Regions from separate parts of the Homo sapiens genome. Here regions 2 and 3 are each linked to region 1. The links are contacts of gene promoters, found by promoter capture Hi-C in human tissues and cell types (Jung and others, 2019). All regions are on one chromosome and are shown on one strand. Each heading gives the region's core, a stretch centred on a gene start or on the middle of the fragment in contact. The rest is flanking DNA. Distances are from core to core; before and after follow the strand shown.

Region 1 (5,044 bases), core at 1,470-3,969:
ACACCCTATACAGGAGCGATCCTACTGGCATCAGGTTGGTGCCTCTTGAGGTCAGAGATCCCAGAGGAAGGAGCGGACACTCTTCTTTGCTATTCTCCAACCTCCTTGATTGACATCTCCAGGAACAGGAGTGAACCAGATGAATAGAGCCTGAAGTGAACCCCCAGCAAACTGCAGCAGCCCTACAGAAGAGGGACCTGACCACTGAAAGAAAAACAAACAAACAGAAAACAACAACATCAACAACAAAAAAGTACCGACAAAAACCCCATCCAAGGCCGGGCATGGTGGCTCACACCAGTAATCTCAGTACTTTGGGAGGCTGAGACAGGCAGATCACTTGAGGTCAGGAGTTCAAAACTAGCCTGGCCAACATGGCAAAACCCCATCTCTACTAAAAAATACAAAAATTAGCCAGGCGTTGTGTTGCATGCCTGTAATCCCAGCTACTCGGGAATCTGAGACACGAGAATCACTTGAACCTGGGATGCGAAGGTTGCATTGAGCCGAGATTGTGCCACTGCCCTCCAGCCTGGGTGACAGAGTGAGACTCTGTCTCAAAACAAAACAAAACAAAACAGAAACAACCATTCAGTTGTCAACAGCCTCAAAGATCAAAACTAGACAAGTTCATGAAGATGAGAAAGAATCAACAAAAGAACTCTGAAAGGCCAGAGTGCGGCTTTTCCTCCAAGTTATCAAAATGTCTCTTCAGCAAGGGTGCAGAACTGGACAGAGGATGAGATGGATGAATTGACAAAAGTAGGCTTCAGAAGATGGGTAATAAACTCTGCTGAGCTAAAGGAACATGTTCTAAACCAATTGAAAGAAGCTAAGAACCTTGATAAAAGGTTAGAGGAACTGCTAACTAGAATAACTGGTTTAGACAGGAACATAAATGATCTGATGGAGCTAAAACACACAGCATGAGAACCTCCTGAAGCATACAAAAGTATTTGTAGCTGCATTGACCAAGCAGAAGAAAGAACATCAGAGTTTGAAGACCACCTTGCCAAAATAAGGCATGCAGACAAGATTAAACAAAAATGAATAAAAAGGAACAAATGAAGCCTTTGAGAAATATGTTCTGTGCAGGAAACACATGAGGGGAGAAGAAAAGACACGCACACAATACCTTTAAGGGTAAACAAGCTTTATCCCAGGTAAATGGCAATGCATATATAATAAGCAAATTGATATAATAAGAGCATTGCAATGGGAAGGGGAGAAGAGAAAAAATATATATCTTTACACTCACCAGACTATGGAGGATTCATCAGCAGACCAGGAAGCAACAGCCTGGGCTCCAGAGTCGGCCACCCATCCCTGTACAGACAAGGAGAGGTCTTTGGAGCTTTGGTGCAGTCTGGGATCCTAGCTCTTTTTGTAACAAGTTGTTTGGCATGAGGCCCAGTTGCAACTGGGCTCTTTGCAACTGGGCTCAAGGAACACAAAAAAGTCAACTTGTTTTTTTTGCGATTGGCTATTGTTTTTCAATAACTAACGTATAGGAATAGATTAAAATAGAGATTTCTCCAAAACAATCTGTGCCCAGTTCTCTTTGCCCAGCTTGGCCTCAGTCCCATTCAGCCAGAAGATGGCAGCTGCGCTGACAGCCAGGCCCCCAGAAGTCCTGCCTCTTCACTGCGCTGTGACTGTGCCCTGGCCTGGAGCCCACTTTGGGCAGCTCTGCACCTGCAGCATGGCGTCTCTCCCAGATTGTGCAGGGACCAGGGGAAGGTCGGCAGGTGAATGCCTCAAGGGGCTCACATAACCTGTTCCAGGACTTGGTGACCATTGTTTGTGTCCATGTTCAACTGAGTTCAAATTTAATATTTAACTTTTCCTCCACAAATTCCCCTGTCTTGATGAATCATCTCTGTCTAGGCAAGATGAAGCCCTTAGGCCGTTACACAACCTCCGCCTCCTGGGTTCAAGCGATTCCCCTGCTTCAGCCGCCGTAGCACCTGGGACTACAGGTGTGTACCACCACACCTGGCTAATTTTTTGTGTTTTTACTAGAGATGAGATTCAACATGTTGGCCAGGCTGGTCTTGAACTCCTGACCTGAAGTGATCCACCCACTTTGGCCTCCCAAAGTGCTTGGATTACAAGCGTGCACCAGCGGACTGGCCCTAAATGATTTCTTTGTCTCTTGTAACAGTTTGAAATTACTTAAAGGTTGTTTCAAATTGAAAAAATAAAAAGAATGTAGATAAAAATAAAATATAAAAAGTTAAAAAATTACATTAGATTACAAAATATGTATGTAAATCTCGAGAGGTCAAAAATGACAAATTTGATTTTTTATAAGGTTTTATCAAAATTACCTTTAGTATTGATAATACATTATTGCCAAAGTAAAAGTTGATTTTCTCTTGAACAAAAATTTTATGTATTATTAATATGAGAGCAAAATACTTCTGTTCACCTTTTGAATACATTCAAAAAGAGAGAGAGTAAAGAAAAGATAGAATTCTCCCATGCTCTGGGGTGGGCCTGGCTCAGCTCAGGAAGGAAGCCCTGCCTGAAAAGGCTGCAGCTTAGGCTGTCACTCTTTCTTCACTCAGCTCAGCGTCTGATCACATCTACTGTCACTCAGGGCCTCAGGGGGCGGGGCCTTAAGCATTATCCAATCAGGGATGGTGGGCTGGAAACCATCCAATCAGGAACGCAGCTGGAGCGAAGAGGACGGTTTCCGGGTTTGGTGCGGCCTTTGTCTCTCGCTGCAGTCAGAGCTCCAGGTCTGGTTCTTCTCCTAAAGGCCCAGGCTGTGTGGCCCCGTGTCCTGCAGGTATTGGGAGATCCACAGCTAAGACACCGGGACCTCCTGGAAGCCAAAAATGGTGAGAGTGAGGGTCCGACATCCCGAGAGAGGAGAGGGACTGGTTGGAACCGGTGAAAAGTGGCTGTGGCGGGACTCAGGCCTCCCCGCAGTCAGCTCCACAGTCTGCTCCCCCAGTTCTCCTTGCTCAGCTCGGCCTCAGTCCTGTTCAGCCATAAAATGGCAGCTGCGCTGACAGCCGGCACCCGGGCGTCTTGTCTCTTCACTGCGCGGTGACTACCCTGGCCTGGAGCCCTCTCTGGGCAGCTCTGCACCCGCAGCGTGGCGTCTCTCCCAGATTGTGCAGGGACCAGGGGAGGGTGGGCAGGGGAGAATCCTGACTCGGGGTGCGGGTTCATGAATGGGAAGAGCTTTGTTCCTTTGGGTTTACAGTTTCTCTTTTCTCCTATTAAAAATGTATGGGGCCGGACGCTGTGGCTCACGCCTGTAATCCCAACGTTTTGGGAGGCCGAGGCGGGCGGATCACTTGAGGTAAAGAGGTGTTAGGACAACTAAGTTCCTTTTAAATGACTCAACTTTCTGGTCATAAGTTGTAAAAGTTGTAAATCAACCCTACCTCTTCTTCTACCCCCTTTTCCTTTTCTCGCAAATCGCGCATTTACTTTATTTGGAAAAAGTTTGGGTCTAAGCTTACCAGGATCAGCTTAGATTGTGCGGTCTGATCCCAGCCAATAGGGGATGGAAACAAAAACAGGAACTGCATTAGGGTTCAAAACCCCTTTCTTGCTGGGCGCGGTGGCTCAAGCCTGTAATCCCAGCACTTCGGAGGCCGAGGCAGGTGGATCACGTGGTCAGGAGTTCTAGACCAGCCTGGCCAACGTGGTGAAACCCGTCTCTACTAAAAATACGAAAACTATCGGCGTGTTGGCACGTGCCTGTAGTACCAGCCACTTGGGAGGCTGAGGCACGAGAATTGCTTGAACCCGGGAGGCGGAAGTTGCAGTGAGCTGAGATCCAATCATCGCGCTCCAGCCTGCGTGACAAAGCGAGACTCCGGCTCAAAAAAAAGAAAAAAAAAGTAAGCATCTTAAAAATTCCTTTATGTAAACATTGTGAGTAATTTCACTGGAGTTTCTAACACTTAGTTTCAAAAACCAAGTGAATAACTGATGTGGACATTAAAGCTTGAACCTAGTGACTCCAAGCTAAGGCTAATATTAAGCCTGCAACAGGGTATTTTTTTTTTTTTTTTTTTTTTTTTAGACACAGTGTCGCTTGTGGTGCCCAGGCTGGAATGTAATGGCGTGATCTCGGCTTACTGGGTTCAAGCGATTCTCCTACCTCAGCCCCACCAGTAGCTGGGATTACAGGCATGCACCATCACGCCCGGCTAATTTTGGTGTTTAGTAGAGACGGGTTTTCTCCATGTTTGTCAGGCTGGTCTTGAACTCTCTGCCTCAGACCCGCTTCGGCCTCCCAAAGTGCTGGCATTATCGGTGTGAGCCACCGCACCCGGCCAACAGGAGGTTATTAAAGGCCCTGTTATTTTTTTCTGGGGAGTCTCCCTTGCGGATATCTCAAGACTGCTCACCCCAGCCACGGAAGGAGCCTTCATTCTGAAAGAAGCTACAAAGCCTTGGAAAGCTGGGGCCCCACAGGCAGATGCAGTCAAGATTAAGATGAAAGGAAACTGGGAGGGTCTTACTGGTAATGAAGTTGTTATGGTTTTGAGGCACTTTTTACGCTTTCTAAAATAAGAATATTAGATTTATGTAAAAAAAAAATGAATTCCTAAGAAGTATTGCAACAGGAAGAAGTACCAGCTAACTAAAAAATCTTCATGGGTTGCAAAAATGTAGGCAGAAAAGGGCTTTTCTCCTACATTGGAGATGGCTTATCTCCATCCCTCACTAGCCTGAGGGATGGAGATAAACTTAAGTAAAGTTTGATTAAGAAATATTTTAGGCTGAGCGCCATGGCTCAGGCATGTAATCCCAGCAGTTTGGGAGGCCTAGGCGGACGGATCACCGCAAGTCAGGAGCTTGAGACCAGCCTGGTCAACATGGTGATAACCCTGTGTCTACTAAAAATACAAAAATTAGCTGGTAGTTGTGGTGGCCACCTGTAATGCCAGCTACTTGGGAGGCTGAGGCAGGAGAATTGCTTGAACCATGGAGACAGAGGTTGCAGTGAGCTGAGACGGTGCCAAGGCACTCCAGCCTGGGTGGCCGAGCGAGACTCCATCTCAAAAAAAAAAAA
Region 2 (5,044 bases), core at 1,496-3,995, 55 kb before region 1:
CTGGTCATTACAGAAATGCAAATCAAAACCACAATGAGATACCATCTCATGCCAGTTAGAATGGTGATAATTAAAAAGTCAAGAAACAACAGATATTGGAGAGGATGGGGAGAAATAAGAATGCTTTTACACTGTAGGTGGGAGTGTAAATTAGTTCAACCACTCTGGAAGACAGTGTAGTGATTCCTCAAGGATTTAAGACTAGCCACACCATTTAACTCAGCAATCCCATTACTGGGTATATACCCAAAGGATTATAAATCATGCTACTATAAAGACACAGCACACGCATGTTTATTTTGGCACTATGCAATATACCAAAGACTTGGAACCAACCCAAATGTCCATCAATAATAGACTGGATAAAGAAAATGTGGCACATACACACCATGGAATACTACGCAGCCATAAAAAAGAATGAGTTCATGTCCTTTGCAGTGACATGGATAAAGCTGTAAACCATCACTCTAAGCAAACAATCACAAGGACAGAAAACCACACACCGCATGTTCTCACTCATAGGTGGGAGTTGAACTATGAGAACACATGGACACAGGGTGGGGAACATCAAACACTGGAGCCTGTCAGGGGGTTGGGGGCTGGGGGAGGGATAGCATTAGGAGAAATACCTAATGTAAATGACGAGTTGATGGGTGCAGCAAACCAACATGGCCCATGTATACCTATGTAACAAACCTAGAACTTAAGTACCCTAGAACTTAAAGTATTATAAAAAAGAGAAAAATGCATTGCAAAACCAAAAAAAGAGAAAAATACCAAGCCAAACACTCAATCTGGATGAATAGAGAATAAAAAAATATTTACAGAAACTAAGAAGTTTCTCCTCAAACTTTCTTAGGATGTTACTGGATGATTTTCTTAAGCAAAATGAGGAGGCTAAGAATGTGGAAGACATGGGATCCAAAGAAAGGTGGATCCAGGGTGACCGAGAGAAGGAGGAGTGCCAGGATGCAGCTTTGGAGCAGGCCTGGAAGCAGCACTCCAGACAGAAGGAAGAAAACAGAGGCTCCAACAAGGAGACATTTTGTAAAAAATGGTGTTTCATAGATTTCATATGATCCCTAGGAAGATAGAACTACTTAAAAACATATTAAAGACAATATGAAGAAGTAAGAAGAGAATTAGAAACTCCAGAAAAATCCAAATAGCTATACAAAACCCACAAAATTAATCCTAAACAAGGGCTTGGTTCTGCAGCAAATAGTACTTGGAAGAGGAATAACAAACAAAACATGATTCACTTCCTGCTTTCATAATAAACCATAGATAAAGGACAGAAGACAGGTATCATCTTGGAAAGGAATGCAAATATTATCAACCCTGACAGTTTGCAAGGTTGAGATTTAAAAAATATTATCTCTGCAAATAAGGTCAGGTGATCTTTGAAACATTAGTAAATTAGAGAATAAACTTTATCTCAACTAGAGAAGAGGTATTTCCTATAGTTGCTGTAAAAAGAAATATAATGGTGAACATTTATTTAAAGTTACAAAAGTAATTAATAGAAAAACAAAAAAAGTAGGCAAAGAATCATACTGGCAGGAGTATTAAGGGAAGGCTTGGGATGATATAAGGAAGTTAAATCTTTTGTCAGAATAGCGCGTCAGTAAATGCTATTTCAAATTAATCAAGGAATATAGTGCAATAACAGATTAAAGGTGGATGATAATCAGAAATATAAGTTTAGAAATCTTTTTTTTGTGTGTGGGAGTGGGGACAGAATCTTGCTCTATCCCCCAGGCTGGAGTGCCTTGGCATAATCTTGGCTTACTACAACTTCTGCCCCCCAGGCTCAAGCCTTTCTCTCACCTCAGCCTCCTGAGTAGCTGCAATTACAGGCATGCACCATCACACCCAGCTAATTTTCAAATTTTTTGTAGAGGTGGGGTTTCACCATGTTGACCAGGCTGGTCTCAAACTCCTGACCTCAAGTGACCTGCCTTCCAAAGTGCCGGGATTACAGGAACGAGCCACCATGCCCAGCCTAGAAATAGTTTTAAGAGTTAAATAGTGTTACTGATATAGTTTGGATATTTGTCCCTTCCAAATCTCATGTTGAAATGTAATCCCCAGTGTTGGCGGTGAGGCCTGGTGGGAGGTGTTTCACCTTCTGCCGAGTAAAGCTCCCTGAGGCCTCACCAGAAGCTGAGCAGATGCTGGCACCACATTTCTTGTGCAGGCTGCAGAACCAGGAGTCAATTAAACCTCTTTTCTTTATAAATTATCCAGCCTCAGATATTTCTCTGTAGCAATGCAGAAAAGGCCAAACACAGTTAGCCTGTACGAAAAGAGGTTAGAGACTGTTAGGCATGGGGCAGGAAGTTTATTTTTCATTTTAATCTCTCTATTCGATTTAATTTTCCAAAACATATGAATAGATACATTTGATCAAAAACTTAAATACAAGCACTTTCTAAGAGTTGGAGTTAAAATAACTGATACCCATTTGTTTCCGTGGCTGGTCTTGTGTAATGAAGACAGGGAGCATTTGCCAGCAGGATCGCAGAGAGACTTTACAGGCCTACCTGGGAATTAGGTAATCACCAGGCCATGTTTGACTCTGAGATAAGTTTTCTCCAAGATTTGTAAGCTCCAAAACCCACAATATCATTTCAGGCTATCCTCAAATTCTTTCACTGATACAAAAATTAGGTAATAATTCACATTTGTATGTAAAGGTAGGAGTGGGTGATGTAAAAGACTTACCAGAAATGAGTTTATTGCTAAAAAATTTTGCAGCAGTTGAGAAATTTCTGACCTCTTCTTATTGAATGGCCTTGTCTCATGCTTTGATATTTCTCATAGGCCATAGTTGGCATCTTTAATGCCCTAGGGCAAACTTCAAGAACTCTAGAGTTATTGTAAATTAGCTATTGCAAGCATACGACTGTTCTGGTCATTCAAAGTAATCCTGTCTTCAGTTAGAGCAAATAGGAGAAAAATGATGTTTTACTGAATGCTTAGCCTGTTTGTAATTATCACCAAACTTGTAAGACACAAGGTTATAATAGCCTTCTATTTTGTAAACAAAAGTGAGGACAAATAATTAGTCATAGGATAGAAATACAATCAATTTTCCATAACACTGAAGTTTGTGTACCTTCTAGTATCTTGCTCTTCACTCTCTACAAAGCTGCTTCACAACTGAATCAAACCAAACAAACAGGGCAGCTGGACTGGTTTTCTGGTGGTGGCAGTGGGTGGGGGTGAGTTCTCTGGCATGGAAGCTTTCAGGCATAAGCTCCAAGACCATTCTTTTTCAGGTTGTTTTAGAGAAGGTTCAAGGACAAGTGGGTTGGAATTGGGCTCTGGGACCTCTCCTAACAATGGGATTGTATTTATGATATCTCAAGAGTACGCTCAAAGAAAAATGCTTTGGATCCTCCAAGTAGGATGTGAGGTGATAAACTCAAAGTCATACTCCCATTTGATAAAAACAAACAAAACAAACAAAAAACAACTTAACTTGAACCCAAGTTTTGTAGGTCTCAGCCTTGAGTCTTCATATTGTGCTAATTTCCAGAGCAAATAAGTTGCTCCCAAGCACATTGGGGCTGGTAGTTCTGTTATAGGAAGAGGGACTTAGAAATTCTAATGAAAAGCAGTGCTGGGATCGAAAGAATCAACTCAGGAAATCTCAGAAATTATTTATCTCTTGATTTGTCATTGCCTAGGCTGTCTTTGCACATAGCTAACAGGAACCTGAAGAGGAGCCATCTCGCAAATGACAGCCAGAGGAGAGACTTGGAATTTGGCATGAGCTTTAATGGAGATATTCTGCAATTTATGGTTTTGGCAAGTGGAGACTGAAGGTAAAATAAATACGTTACAGCTTTTGAGAACAAATATTTTTTCATAAGTTTCCTCTGGCAGTTAATTTGTCTTTGACAGATTACTCTCAAAGTAATGGAGATGAATAGAAATGACTTTACCCAGAATGGCCTTATTATGATGCATAATCCTTTTAATGTCTCACTTTATAGGGCCTAGAATCTTTAGGATTTGGCAACAGAGACCTAATCAGGACTGTCTCTCCTTTTTTTGGAAAAAAAAAAAAAACAACCTAGTAAGTCTTTTTTTTAAAGTCAAAGTGCCATCAAACCTATGGTCTAATTATCTTCATAAGCAAAGAGACACCTGCTTGCATAGGGATGAGACTATTGCAAGAATTAATATGTTTTCCAATTTTTAAATAAAATGAACTAATGGAACCCAACATCTCATTAATGGTCAGAGTTAGGGCCATATATAAGATTAGATTCCACCAAATTCTGGCTCATATACGGTTACCTAAATGGCTATTTCTTTGTATTTTCCAAACTAGACAAGGTCATTGAGTTGTCATCTCAATAGACAATTAAATATCTAAGGTCAATGCTTCACTGTTTTTTTGGAAGATAGATTTTAGTTTGCCATAAAGTGTCAAAGAGAAACCAGCTGGATCTGAGTAATCTTAGATACATGTGGCCCATGCTGGATGTACTCTTAAAGCTTTCTTGAAGAGTAAGAAATTTTCCTAAGATTTTTATGGGCTTTTAAAATGTTTTAATGACATCCCCACCTCTTCAACAACCTTCTGTTTTACAAGTTACTTCCAGTATAACAGGCATTTCTATTTGGTGGTTTCCAGGTAGGAAAAATGATAGACTTAATTTCTCTTGCTCTTGGCAACTATTCTCTTTCCACAGAACTCTGGCCAGCTGGTTTACACCAACCTTCTTTTGTTTGCTGATATTTCCACCACCTGCTGGTTGCCCTTATATTCTCTGGTTGACACTATAGGTACTATTAGTTTGAAGATGTTAAGTGTTTGAAGCTTCTGATTTTACTTTATTTCTGTATATTATTTACCCTTAGGACTCATGATTCTACAAAGTGGAAAGGAATAATGATATTTTGATAGACTCCATGAATTCAAGCAGTGATCCCAAATCTCATAGCTTGTATCAGTGAGGCTTCTTACACACAAGTCAATTTTCTGACCTTTGTAGAATCAACTAGCTGCCTTTTAGCTTACACTCTT
Region 3 (5,044 bases), core at 939-3,438, 36 kb after region 1:
CCTTTGTAGGGACATGGATGAAACTGGAAACCATCATTCTCAGCAAACTATCGCAAGGACAAAAAACCAAACACCGCATGTTCTCACTAATAGGTGGGAATTGAACAATGAGAATACATGGACACAGGAAGGGAAACATCACACACCGGGGACTGTTGTGGCGTCAGGGGCAGGGGGAGGGATAGCATTGGGAGATACACCTAATGCTAAATGACGAGTTAATGGGTGCAACACACCAACATGGCACAAGTATACATATGTAACAAACCTGCACGTTGTGCACATGTACCCTAAAACTTAAAGTGTAATAATAATAAAATTTAAAAATATATTTACATGAAATTCTACTTCTGTCTTGCCACTTTCAGTCTTTTTTTGTCAGTAGATCTCAACTGACTCCTGTAGAAAGGCAAGTTGACTCTTGATTTTTAAAATTTTTTAATAAACCTGTTTATTGAAAGTATATCTCTTGATTGGAAAGATAATTATATATATATTTAAATGGTTTTCTGAAAGAGAAAAACTTACTAATGTTATTTTATTATTTGTTTTATTTGATTCTTATATCTTTGTCTTTCCTTTTCTTTCTGTGGTTTTCGTGGTTTTTTGCTTTTTGTATTGGTATTTTTCCAGGATTTTTTAAATTTTCTTTTGTGTATCCATACAAATATTTTCTTAGTGGTACTTTGGGAGATTACATAAAACCTCTAAAAGATCCAACAATATATTTGAATGTGGTAAAAAATAAACTTCAGTTGAATACAAAAATTCTTCATCATTACATCTGCCTACATTACAGCTCCTAAAATTCTCTTCTTATCTATGATTTTTGAAGGTTTGCTTGTATGTGTGTTTGTTACAAATATCTTTGTGTGTATCCTAGTTTGTTTCTTCAGCTTTTTCATGTTTACATCATTTTTCCTTTTAAGAAATTTTTCAATTGTTTTTTGCATTTTTTATATCCACAATTTTTGTTTTTTTGCTATTTCAATATTTCTTATTATTATCCTCATTTTTATCTTCAGTACTTGTTTGTTTCACTTACCTAATGTTATTCAAATTTATTTATTTAGTTAGTTTTTCTGAGATGGAGTCTTTTTCTGTCACCCAGGCTCTGGAGTGCAGTGGCGCCATCTCAGCTCATAGCTACCTCTGCCTCCCGAGTTCAAGCAATTCTCCGGCCTCTGTCTCCCAAGTAGCTGGGGTTACAGGTGGCTGCCAGCATTCCAGCTAATTTTTTGTATTTTTAGCAGAGATGGGTTTTTACCATGTTGGCCAGGCTAATTTTGGACTCCTGACCTCAAATTAGGAGGCCAAGGTGGCCTCCTAAGTTGCTGCGATTACAGGCATGAGCCATTGCGCCCAGCCTATTTTATTTTTGAGACAGTCTTGCTCTGTCATCCAGTCTGAAGTGCAGTGGTACAATATTCACTCACTGCAACTGTCCCCTCCCAGGTTCAAGCAATTCTTGTGTTGTGTGTCAGCCTCCCAAGTAGCTGGGATTACAGGCACATGCCACCATGCCCAGCTAGTTTTTGTATTTTTAGTAGATACAGGGTTTCACCATGTTGGCCAGGCTGGTCTCAAATTCTCACCTAATGTGGTTTTCCCACCTTGGCCCCCTAGTGTGTTGGGATTCCAGGAATGAGCCACTAAGCTTGACCTGTACAACTTATTGGGAATTTTTTAAATTACCTCATATACATTTTATGGTTGCTTTAAAAATTTTATAACTTTTTGATGGGATCACGTTGCTCTACTATTTTGTATTTATTGTAATCTTTGAGATTTTTACATTAACAAAATGCTACCTGTTACAATCTTTATAATGTAGCTGTGTCCTGGCATAGTCTGAAATCAATTGTCTTAACTAGAGATTCTGGGAATCTCAGCTCACTGTAACCTCCACCTCCCAGGTTCAAGCAGTTCTCTGCCTCAGCCTTCTGAGTAGCTGGGATTACAGGTGCCCCATCGCCACACCCAGCTAATTTTTTGTAATTTTAGTACAGATTGAATTTCATCATCTTTGCCAAGATGGTCTTGAACTCCTGACCTTCTGATCCACCCACGTCAGCCTCCCAACATGCTGGGACTACAGGCGTGTGTCACCCCAGCCAGTCAACAATTTACTTTTAAAGGCACAATGTTATACTGGAGAGCAAAACCAGCTGTGTTGTGTATAAGTAACAGACTTTTCTATTTCTTCTATTTGGCCGTTTGCATTGTGCTCACCTGGGGCCCTTCACAACTTATTATAAGTTTTTTACAAATGTATTTTGATCAGTATGTTTTTGTTAAATTCATATGTCCAGGAAGAAATTACAGCTTGTGGTATTTTCCTGTGTCATCTTGCTTATGTAGTTTGTATAAAACTATACAAACTGCATATATATATTTATATTTATCTGAGTCTACCAATTGAAGTAATGTGTTTTTATTGTTTCTTTCAGTAATGTGTTCTCATTTTGCCCAAGACCTTTGGCCAGAGCAGAGCATGAAAGATTCTTTCCAAAAAGTGGTACTGAGAAGATATGAAAAATGTGAACATGACAATTTACAGTTAAAAAAAGGATGTATAAGTGTGGATGAGTGTAAGGTGCACAAAGAAGGTTATAATGAACTTAACCAATGTTTGACAACTACCCCAAGAAAAATATGTCAATGTGATAAATATGTGAAAGTCCTTCATCAATTTCCAAATTCAAACGGACAAAAGAGAGGACATACTGGGAAAAAACCTTTCAAATATATAGAATGTGGCAAAGCTTTTAAGCAGTTCTCAACTCTTACTACACATAAGAAAATTCATACTGGAGGGAAACCCTACAAATGTGAAGAATGTGGCAAAGCCTTTAACCACTCTTGTAGCCTTACTAGACATAAGAAAATTCATACTGGAGAGAAACCCTACAAATGTGAAGAATGTGGCAAAGCCTTTAAGCACTCCTCCACTCTTACTACACATAAGAGAAATCATACTGGAGAGAAACCCTACAAGTGTGATAAATGTGGCAAAGCCTTTATGTCATCCTCAACCCTTAGTAAACATGAGATAATTCATACGGAAAAGAAACCCTACAAATGTGAAGAATGTGGCAAAGCCTTCAACCGGTCCTCAACCCTTACTACACATAAGATAATTCATACTGGAGAAAAACCCTACAAATGTGAAGAATGTGACAAAGCCTTTAAGTACTCCTATACCCTTACTACACATAAAAGAATTCATACTGAAGACAAACCCTACAAATGTGAAGAATGTGGCAAAGCCTTTAAGTACTCCTCTACCCTTACTACACATAAGAGAATTCATACTGGAGAGAAACCCTACAAATGTGAAGAATGTGGCAAAGCCTTCAAGCGGTCTTCAGACCTTACTACGCATAAGATAATTCATACTGGAGAGAAACCCTACAAATGTGAAGAATGTGGCAAAGCTTTTAAGTACTCCTCTAACCTTACTACACATAAGAAAATTCATACTGGAGAGAGACCCTACAAATGTGAAGAATGTGGCAAAGCCTTCAACCAGTCCTCAATCCTTACTACACATAGGAGAATTCATACTGGAGAGAAATTCTACAAATGTGAAGAATGTGGCAAAGCTTTTAAGTGCTCCTCTAACCTTACTACACATAAGAAAATTCATACTGGAGAGAGACCCTACAAATGTGAAGAATGTGGCAAAGCCTTCAACCAGTCCTCAATCCTTACTACACATGAGAGAATCATACTGGAGAGAAATTCTACAAATGTGAAGAATGTGGCAAAGCCTTCAAGCGGTCCTCACACCTTACTACACATAAGATAATTCATACTGGAGAGAAATTCTACAAATGTGAAGAATGTGACAAAGCTTTTAAGCATTTCTCTAACCTTACTACACATAAGAAAATTCATACTGGAAAAAAACCCTACAGATGTGAAGAATGTGGCAAAGCCTTTAAGCACTCCTCTAAACTTACTACACATAAGAGATTTCATACTGGAGAGAAACCCTACAGATGTGAATAATGTGGTAAAGCTTTTCACCTATCCTCACACCTTACTGCACATAAGATAATTCATACTGGAGAGAAACCATGTGAATGTGATGAATGGGGAAAATCTTTTAACCAGCCCTCAATTTCTAACTAAGAATTGATATGAAATATAAACTCTACAAATATAAAGAATGTGACAGATTTTTTAAGGAACTTCTCAACCTTTATTACACATAATTCATACTGGAAAGAAACCCTACAAGTGTGAAGAATGTGGCAAAGCATATAACAAGTTCTGTCTTTTTTTTTTTTTTTTTGAGATGGAGTTTCAACTCTTGTCACCCAGTCTGGTGTGCAATAGCACAGTCTCGGCTCACTGCAACCTCCGCCTTCTGGGTTCAATCCATTCTCCTGCCTCAACCTCCCAAGTAAGGGGGATTACAGGTGCCCACCCCCATGCCCAGCTAACTTTTGTATTTTTAGTAGAGACAAGGTTACACCATGTTTGTCAGGCTGGTATCCAACCCCTGACCTCACATGATCCACCCACCTCAGCCTCCTAAAGTGTTGCAATTACAGGCATGAGCCACCATGCCTGGCCACAAGTTCTTACTATTAAGAGACATGGTGATAATTCATTCTGAAGAGGAACTCTACAAACCTGAAAGATGTGACAGTGCTTTTTTCAACACTTCCATCCTTTCTATACATAAAAAATTTATACTAGTGTGAAACCCTAGAAATATATAAAATGTGAAACAGCCTTTATATGGTTGCCACATTTGATAGTAAGATAATTCATACTGGCAAAATTCCTACAAGCATGAAGAATGTGGCAAAACCTTTAATCAATGTGTACATCTTATTTTGCAGGAAAGCTATTATCCTTGAGAAAAATTGTACAAATATAAAGAATATGGAAAACCCATTAATGCCTACTCACATCTTACTCAACATAAGAAGGTTCATAGTTAATGAAAGCATTAAAAGTGCAATTACTGTCAAAAAATCTTTCAGAAAATATAAGCCTTTAAAGTGAAGAAGAGTATTTATTCTGAAGA

Evidence for each region. The method cuts DNA at HindIII sites, captures the fragments that hold promoters and counts their contacts. A contact is called where the count stands out against the background at its distance.
Region 2: a fragment that was not itself captured here is called in contact with the fragment with the promoter of ZNF626 in region 1 in 1 of the 25 tissues and cell types used here (liver).
Region 3: a fragment that was not itself captured here is called in contact with the fragment with the promoter of ZNF626 in region 1 in 1 of the 25 tissues and cell types used here (hippocampus).

What each region holds. Positions count from the first base shown.
Region 1 is chr19:20,659,246-20,664,289 of GRCh38, reverse strand. It overlaps ZNF626 (zinc finger protein 626), which reads left to right and starts at 2,719. Exons shown (of 4, transcript NM_001076675.3): 1 at 2,719-2,846. The coding sequence starts at 2,844. RefSeq lists a silencer at 2,525-2,594. The HindIII fragment of the contact is 1,409 bases long and covers 2,314-3,722 here.
Region 2 is chr19:20,714,346-20,719,389 of GRCh38, reverse strand. No RefSeq gene overlaps it. Among named protein-coding and RNA genes, the nearest start is that of ZNF626, 55 kb to the right of the region's middle. The HindIII fragment of the contact is 3,860 bases long and covers 816-4,675 here.
Region 3 is chr19:20,623,057-20,628,100 of GRCh38, reverse strand. It overlaps ZNF626 (zinc finger protein 626), which reads left to right. Exons shown (of 4, transcript NM_001076675.3): 4 at 2,451-5,044. The coding sequence ends at 3,811. Among named protein-coding and RNA genes, the nearest start is that of ZNF626, 36 kb to the left of the region's middle. The HindIII fragment of the contact is 4,768 bases long and covers 1-4,572 here.